Linked DNA regions of Homo sapiens: region 1 is linked to region 2. Evidence: promoter capture Hi-C in human tissues and cell types (Jung and others, 2019). All regions are on one chromosome and are shown on one strand. Each heading gives the region's core, a stretch centred on a gene start or on the middle of the fragment in contact. The rest is flanking DNA. Distances are from core to core; before and after follow the strand shown.

Evidence for each region. Contacts are between HindIII fragments. The study calls those that stand out against the background at their distance.
Region 1: the fragment with the promoter of RASAL3 here is called in contact with the fragment with the promoter of CIB3 in region 2 in 3 of the 25 tissues and cell types used here (dorsolateral prefrontal cortex, mesendoderm cells and thymus).

Annotation. Positions count from the first base shown.
Region 1 is chr19:15,462,018-15,465,968 of GRCh38, forward strand. RASAL3 (RAS protein activator like 3) reads right to left here and starts at 2,527. Exons shown (of 18, transcript NM_022904.3): 1 at 2,488-2,527; 2 at 2,014-2,360. The coding sequence starts at 2,341. RefSeq lists enhancers at 1,751-1,890, 1,991-2,120, 2,761-2,870. The HindIII fragment of the contact is 13,394 bases long and covers 1-3,951 here.
Region 2 is chr19:16,171,512-16,175,411 of GRCh38, forward strand. It overlaps CIB3 (calcium and integrin binding family member 3), which reads right to left and starts at 2,014. Exons shown (of 6, transcript NM_054113.4): 1 at 1,914-2,014; 2 at 1,651-1,685. The coding sequence starts at 1,964. The HindIII fragment of the contact is 31,728 bases long and covers 1-3,900 here.

The sequences.
Region 1 (3,951 bases), core at 1,277-3,776, 710 kb before region 2:
CTTCTCTTAACCAAGACATTATGTGGGTCCAAGAGGTTAAAAAACAGGACAGGGGCTGGGCAAGGTGGCTCATGCCTGTAATCCCAACATTTGGGAGGCCGAGGTGGGGCAGATTGCTTGAGACCAGGAGTTTGAGACCAGCCTGGGCAACATAACAAGACCCTGTCTTTAAAAAATAGCCTGATGTGCCTGGGCTCTGTGGCTCACACCTGTAATCCTAGCACTTTGGGAGGCCTAGGCGGGTGGATCATCTGAGGCTGGGAGTTCAAAACCAGCCTGACCAACATGGAGAAACCCCGTCTCTACTAAAAATACAAAATTAGCCAGGCGTGGTGGCACATGCCTGTAATCCCAGTTACTCAGGAGGCTGAGGCAGGAGAATCTCTTGAACTTGGGAGGCAGAGGTTGCAGTGAGCTGAGATTCCGCCACTGCACTCCAGCCTGGGCAAGGAAGTGAGACTGTGTCTCAAAACAAAAACAAAAACAAAAACAAAATGGGAATATAAGCAGTGAGAATTAAATGAGCTTCCAGGAAATAGGAGGGCTGAATTAGCCCTCCCAGATTGCCTGTCTGTTCCCTTGTTTTTACCACCAGGAGCAATAAATGATAACTCCCGCTTATTAACGGATCACTTAAAATATGTTGGGCCTGGGGCCGGGCGCGGTGGCTCACGCCTGTAATCCCAGCACTTTGGGAGGCTGAGGCGGGCGGATCATGAGGTCAGGAGATCGAGACCATTCTGGTTAACACAGTGAAACCCTGTCTCTACTAGAAATACAACAATTAGCTGGGCATGGTGGCGGGTTCCTGTAGTCCCAGCTGCTCAGGAGGCTGAGGCAGGAGAATGGCGTGAACCCAGGAGGCGGAGCTTGCGGTGAGCCGAGATCGCGCCACTGCACTCCAGCCTGGGCAACAGAGCGAGACTCCATCTCAAAAAAAAAATAAAAAAAATGCTGGGCCCTAGGCTAGTGTTACATTCCTGAGCCCTAATTCTTGTGATATCCATTACTCTTCTAGATCCCCCTGTGTGACACTTAGCACCATCTGTCATTTTTTTTCTTTCTTTTTTTTTTTTTTCTTCCATTGAGATGGAGTCTCCCTCTGTCGCCCAGGCGGGAGTGCAGTAGTGCAATCTCAGCTCACTGCAACCTCCACCTCCCGGGTTCAAGCGATTATCCTGCCTCAGCCTCCTGAGTAGCTGGGAGTACAGGTATGTGCCACCATGCCTAGATACTTTTTTTTTTTTGTATTTTTAGTAGAAACAGGGTTTTGCCATGTTGGCCAGGCTGGTCTCGAACTCCTGAGCTCAGGTGATCCACCCACCTTGGCCTCCCAAAGTGCTGGGATTACAGGTGTGAGCCATCATGCCTGGCCCATCTGTCATTTTCTTGTTGATGGATTTCCTGTCAATTCCACTACACTGTGAGCTCCATGGGGCAGGGAGGGTCATCTGTCTCTTTCACTAGTGTGTCCTCAGTGCCTAAATCAGGGCCTGGCACATACAATAGAAGCTCAACAAACCTCTGCTTGAATAAATGAATGAATATGAGCAAATAAAATTATATACTCTCCAAAATGGAGATCATTATTCTCACTGAACTGATGGAGAGGCTGAGGCTTAAGGGCTCAGAACAAAGACACGGAAGCTAGAAGGTAGGAGAGTAGGAGGCAGGCTGAAGATGGATATCCAGGTAGGAAAGGATGGGCCTGAGCCATTGAAGGAGAGACCCGTTGGGGCCAAGAGCCGTTTAGCCTCTGGACAATACTATCACGGGTTTACATTCACTGTTCCTTCCTCAGATGGACCCTCTGCCCACAGGACCCCGGCAACTCCTCCTACCCTCTTTAGGGGGAAAGAGGGAACAGGGTAGCTGGGCCCCAGCGGCTTCCTGCTGGGCTTTTGCACTCCCCACAACTTCCTGTGTCTGTATGGTTGATGCTCCGGAGGCAGACAAAACCCAAGCATCCGGCTTCCCAGCCCGGCCCAAGCTCAGGGTGGGGGAACCATGTACCTGGGGCCTCCTGCTCCGGCTCCGGGTCTGGCTCCGGCGGTGGGTTCTTATGCCTCCCCCAGAGGGCCTTGGAGAGTCGAAGGCGACTGGTCCGTGACTCCTTGGGAGGCGCAGATAGGACCCGACGGAATATCGAGCGAGGGGCTGGCTGGGTGCTGACCATGGGCTCCTGGTGGCTCAGGGCCCTGCCCCAGCCAGCAAAGCGGCCCCAGCGGAACCCTCCAGCCGCCTTCTCCCCACCGCCCCCTGTGTGCCAGCGGTAGGAAGTCAGCGGAGAGGTGGCTGTGGGCTGGGTTTGGGAGGTCCGGCTTGGCGACGGTGGGTCCATGGTTGGGGGGGGGGGTCTCCTGGGGGACGAGAGAGTGACAGTAGTGCCCAGTGTCTGTCCACATACTGCCCTCATCTCGGCCCCCTCCCCACCCTCAGCTCTGCCTCCAGGAATCCCCCTGCCCCCACCTCCACTCCCTCCCTTACCTTGGTTTCCTGACCAGCCCCAGAATCAGCAGCCGTCTGCACCCCGCCTGGCTTCCTCCCTCGGAACCCAACTCCACGTGACCCTCTCTGTCCCACCCCACCCCACAGCCAGGCTGGGAGGGCACAGTGCGGGCAGGTTGCTGGAGGTTCGAGGGAGGAGAAGAGAGGAGGTGGGTTACCAGGCTTCTAGCAAGAAGGACCCAGACTGCCTCCCTGACGGGGAGGCAGCACTTGCCCCTCTCTCTGAGCCTCCGTTGCCTTCTCTGCAAAATGAGTACAGGCTGAACAAATGCTGGCGAGAATACAAAGCACCTAGAACTCTAATCCACAGTTGGCCGGAGTGTAGACCCATTCACTCATGTTGGGAAACGGTTTGGCAGGATCTACTAACACTACTAGCTGGATCTTCTCTGACTCAGCAATTCCATTGCTAGGTAGACGTCCAATAGATATGCCCCCCCAGCACAATGCATAATAGCCCCACATTGGAAGCAGCCTAAGTACCCATTAGTGGGAGAAGGAATAAATTGTGATCTCTTCGCACAGCAGAATATCATACAGCAGTGAGAACAAACTAAAGAATGATTTAACTTGGGTGAATCACAAACAATGTTGAGCCAAAACCAAAACCAAAGCCATAAAATGCCAGTAATCTGAGCTATTCAGGAGGCTGAGGGAGGAGGATCGCTTGAGGCCAGGAGTTCGAGGCTGCAGTGAGCTGTGATCATGCCTGTGAATAGGCAGTGCACTCCAGTCTGGGTGACATAGGGAGACCTCATATCTAACTTTTTTTTTTCTTTTTCCCCTCCCTGCCCTCGGGAGACCCCATCTCTAAAAAGCAATAATAAATAAATTTAAAAACCCCAAAACAATGAAGAGTATACACTTTGTGATTCCATTTACATAAAGTCCTAAAGCAGGCAAAACCATGTCTAACAAGCAGGGTATCAGTTTCTTTTGGAGGCACTGGTGGCTGGGAAGAGGGTACAAGGGGGGCTTCTGGAAGATGGCAAGATTTATTATTACTCTTATTATTATTAATTGATTTATTTATCGAGAAGGAGTTTCGCTCTGTCTCCCAGGCTGGTGTGCAGTGGCACGATCTTGGCTCACTGCAATCTCTGCCTCCCGGATTCAAGTGATTCTCCCTACTCAGCCTCCTGAGTAGCTGGGACTACAGGTATTCACCACCATGCCTGCCTAATTTTTTTGTATTTTTAGTAGAGACGGGGTTTCACCATGTTGGTCAGGCTGGTCTTGAACTCCTGACCTGAAATGATCTGCCCGCCTTGGCCTCCCAAAGTGCTGGTATTATAGGCGTAAGCCACCGTGCCCGGCCCTTATTATTATTATTATTTATAAATGAGGTCTATAAAAATAATATAGATCTCATAAAATAAAAATATAATATTTATATTACATAGTAATATAAATAATATTACATTATACATAATATGAATATTA
Region 2 (3,900 bases), core at 764-3,263:
GACCTAGAACTTTCATCCTGACCACTCAGTTCCCTGTCGGGGTCCCATCAGGGAATACCCTGGGTTTAGGTTTCTGTGTGGCTCTGAGCATGTTCCTCTCCTCTCCCTCTCTGTGCCTTGGTTATTCTATCTGATAAGCAAGAAGCTTGGGACAGACAAAATGTCTGTCCTTGGGGCCTTGGGGCTCTGTGCATTTACCCTTCAGCCTGGGATCAGCCCCGCCCTGTCTGAGCCTCAGTTTCCCCATCAGTAATTTGATCGTGATGGCCGAGGTGACCCTGCAAGCTGTCCTCACCCAAACAATGGGGCTCACTAGTAAAAGGTGTGGCCATCAATAATGGATGTCCTGTTACTACACAACTGGGGCCTTGGCCCCGATCACACTGCAGCTGAACCCTGGCCAGCTTGGGTTTCATAGCTCCAAGTTCATGGGTCGGGGCCCCTGGGCAATGGCCCCACAGGCCGAGTGATGATGTGGGATACTCATCTGTGCCCATCGTGCTGGGTCACGCCAGGGACCTGCAGCAGCCTTGGGCCACCTCCTCACACCCTCATCTTAATGCCAAGCCCACAACCCAGACTGGGCTCTGGACTTTGCACCTGGGCTCCCAGCCTCAAGTCCCAGTCTCAGGAGAATCTTTATCTTTCATTTTGTTTTTCTGAGGCAGAGTCTAGCTCTGTCACCCAGGCTGGAGCACAGTGGCGTGATCTCGGCTCACTGCAACCTCCACCTCCCAGGTTCAAGCAATTCTCCTGCCTCAGCCTCTTGAGTAGCTGGGATTACAGGCACCCACCACCTCGCCCAGCTGATTTTTGTATTATTAGCAGAGATGGGGTTTCACCATGTTGGCCAGGCTGATCTTAAACTCCTGACCTCAGGTGATCCACCCACCTTGTCCTCCCAAAGTGCTGGGATTACAGGCATGAGCCACCGCGCCCAGCCTCAGGAGAATCTTTCTAACGTGCTGATGGTCTCTCCCCTGCTCATGCATGCTCCATAGCTCCCTGCCACCCTTGGGAGAAAGCCCAAGCTCATCAGCCTAGAGACTGGGACAGTATGACAAGATGTGACTTGTCAGCTTCTCCATCTCTGCCTCTGTCCACTGACCACACCTGCCCCCCTTCCCCATTTGAGTCCCAACAAATTGGAAATACCAGTTGGGCATGGTGGCTCACACCTGTAATCCCAGCACTTTGGGAGGCTGAGGCAGGGGGATCGCTTGAGCCCAAGGGTTTAAGACCAGCCTGGGCAACATAGTGAGAGCCCCATCTCTATAAAAAAATACAAAAATGAGGTACATGTGGTGGCTCGCACCAGTGGTCCTAGCTACTCGAGAGGCTGAGGTGGGAGGATCACCTGACCTTGGGAGATCGAGCCTGCAATGAGCCATGATTGCACCACTGCACTCCAGCCCAGGCAATAGAGACAGACCCTGTCTCAAAAAAAAAGAAAAGAAGGAAGGAAGGAAGGAAGGGAGGGAGGGAGGGAGAGAGAGAGAGAAAAGAGAAAGAAAGAAAGAAAGACTACTTACACACACACACACACACACACACACACACACACACACACACACCAAATTGCAAATATCCTCCAGCAATGAATAGAAAGTTGTTTTTCCAGATCTTCTCTCCCTTCCTCCCTGGACTGACCTCATGATCTCCTTCCTTGTGAAAAATGTGCAGTCCTGTGGAGAGAGGTGTTGTCTTAACCCGAACCCTGCCTCTGGGGCCTCCTCCCACGGCCTCCTCCCTCCACCCCACACTCACACAGATGGCCTGATGCTGCCACACACAGAGCAGAACCAGGAACCCAGGCGGACGGTACACCCAGATGAAGGCATTCTGTTCCCATTTCCCAGACCACGGAACCAAAGTTGTCAAACCCACTGAGGACCCATCCTGCCCCCCTCTACCTGATACGCTTCCAGCTGCTCGTGTGTGAAGACTGTCTGCTTGTTGCCCATGGTGTGAACCACAGCCCAGACTTGGGGATGCACCCCAAAGGCTCCCAGCTTCCTCGGGGCCACACGGGTTGCCAGGCTGTTGTGTACCAGTGTCTGGGCAAATCTCCCTGCCCTGGCTGTCACCCACCCACCTACGCCATCACCCCCTGCTTGATGAGACTCAAATTACAGCCAGGCTCTCTGGACAACAGCCTGAATGTGTCCATGGGTAAGGATAAGGGCTGTGGGATGTCACAGAGAAGACCTCAGTGGGGAGGCCACATCTGCCACCACAAGGTGAGGCTGGGGTTATGGGGCACACTCAAGAGACAGGCAGGGTATACAGAAGGGCTATGGGCACACTGCAGCTCAAATCCCAGCTCTCTGCCCACTAGCTGTGTGGCCCTGGGCAAGTCACCTGACTTCTCTGAACCTCATTCATGAGATGAAAATTACATTATACCTACCTCATAGGGTCATTCTCAGGATCTGAGATTTAAAAAAAAAAAAAAAAGGTTTTGACTGGGCAAGGTGGCTCACACCTGTAATCCCAGCACTTTGGGAGGGCCAGGCAGGCGGATCACCTGAGGTCAGGAGTTCAAGACCAGCCTGGCCAACACGGCAAAACCCCATCTCTACTAAAAATACAAAAATTAGCTTGGCATTGTGACACATGCCTGTAATCCCAGCTACTCCAGAGACTGAGGCAGGAGAATTGCTTGAACCCAGGAGGTGGAGGTTGCAGTGAGCCGAGATCCCGCCATTGCACTCCAGACTGGGTGACAGAGTAAGACTCCATCTCCAAAAAAAAAAAAAAGGTTTTGGCTGGGCGAGGTGGCTCATACCTGTAATCCCAGCACTTTAGGAGGACAAAGCATGAGATTCACTTGAGGCCAGGAGTTCAAGATCAGCTTGGGCAGCATGGCAAGGCCCTATCTCTACTAAAAATACAAAAATTAGCTGGATGTGGTGGTGCATGCCTGTGGTCCCAGCTACTCAGGAGGCTGAGGTGGGAGGATTGCTTGAGCCCAGGAGTTTGAGGCTGCAGTGAGCCATGATTGCATCACTGCATTGGGAACATAATGGTGAACAAGCTAGATGAAGTTCTGGGGTGTGCATTGACATTATTATTTTATTACATTTTATTTTTTTGAGACAGTCTCACTCTGTTGCCCAGGCTGGAGTGCAGTGGTGTGATCTCGGTTCACTGCAATCTCTGCCTCCCAGGTTCAAGTGATTCTCCTGCCTCAGCATCCCAGGTAGCTGGGACCACAGGTGTCCACCATGCCAAGCTAATTTTTTTTGTATTTTTTTTTTTTGAGACGGAGTCTCGCTCTGTCACCCAGTCTAGGGTGCAGTGGCGTGATCTCGGCTCACTGCAAGCTCCACCTCCCGAGTTCAGGCCATTCTCCTGCCTCAGCCTCCCGAGTAGCTGGGATTATTACAGGCGCCCACCACCACGCCTGGCTAAGTTTTGTATTTTTAGTAGAGACAGAGTTTCACTATGTTGGCCAGGCTGGTCTCGAACTCCTGACCTCAGGTGATCCACCCGCCTCGGCCTCCCAAAGTGCTGGAATTACATGTGTGAGCCACCTCGCCCGGCCCAAAGGGCAGATCTAATGTAGCAGCTACCAACTTTATTAAGGCCCAGAATCCTCTTGGGTGGAGAATCTGAGAGTCTAAATTTCTTAGCCTGGCCCTCCATGCCCTTCTCACTTTGGGTCTCACCTGTGTTTTCTCTACCTGGCCTGGACTATTGCAATGTTTCCCAGCAGGCTTTCCTGCCTCGGCCTCATCAAGCATCCTCTGCCAAATCTGTGCAGTCATCTTGTAAAATGTGACCCTGATCAGGCTTGAAAGATGCCTCAAGGATGACTTTTTTTTTTTTTTGAGACAGGGTCTCACTCTGTCACCCAGGCTGGAGAGCAGTGATACAATCATGGCTCACTGCAGCGAC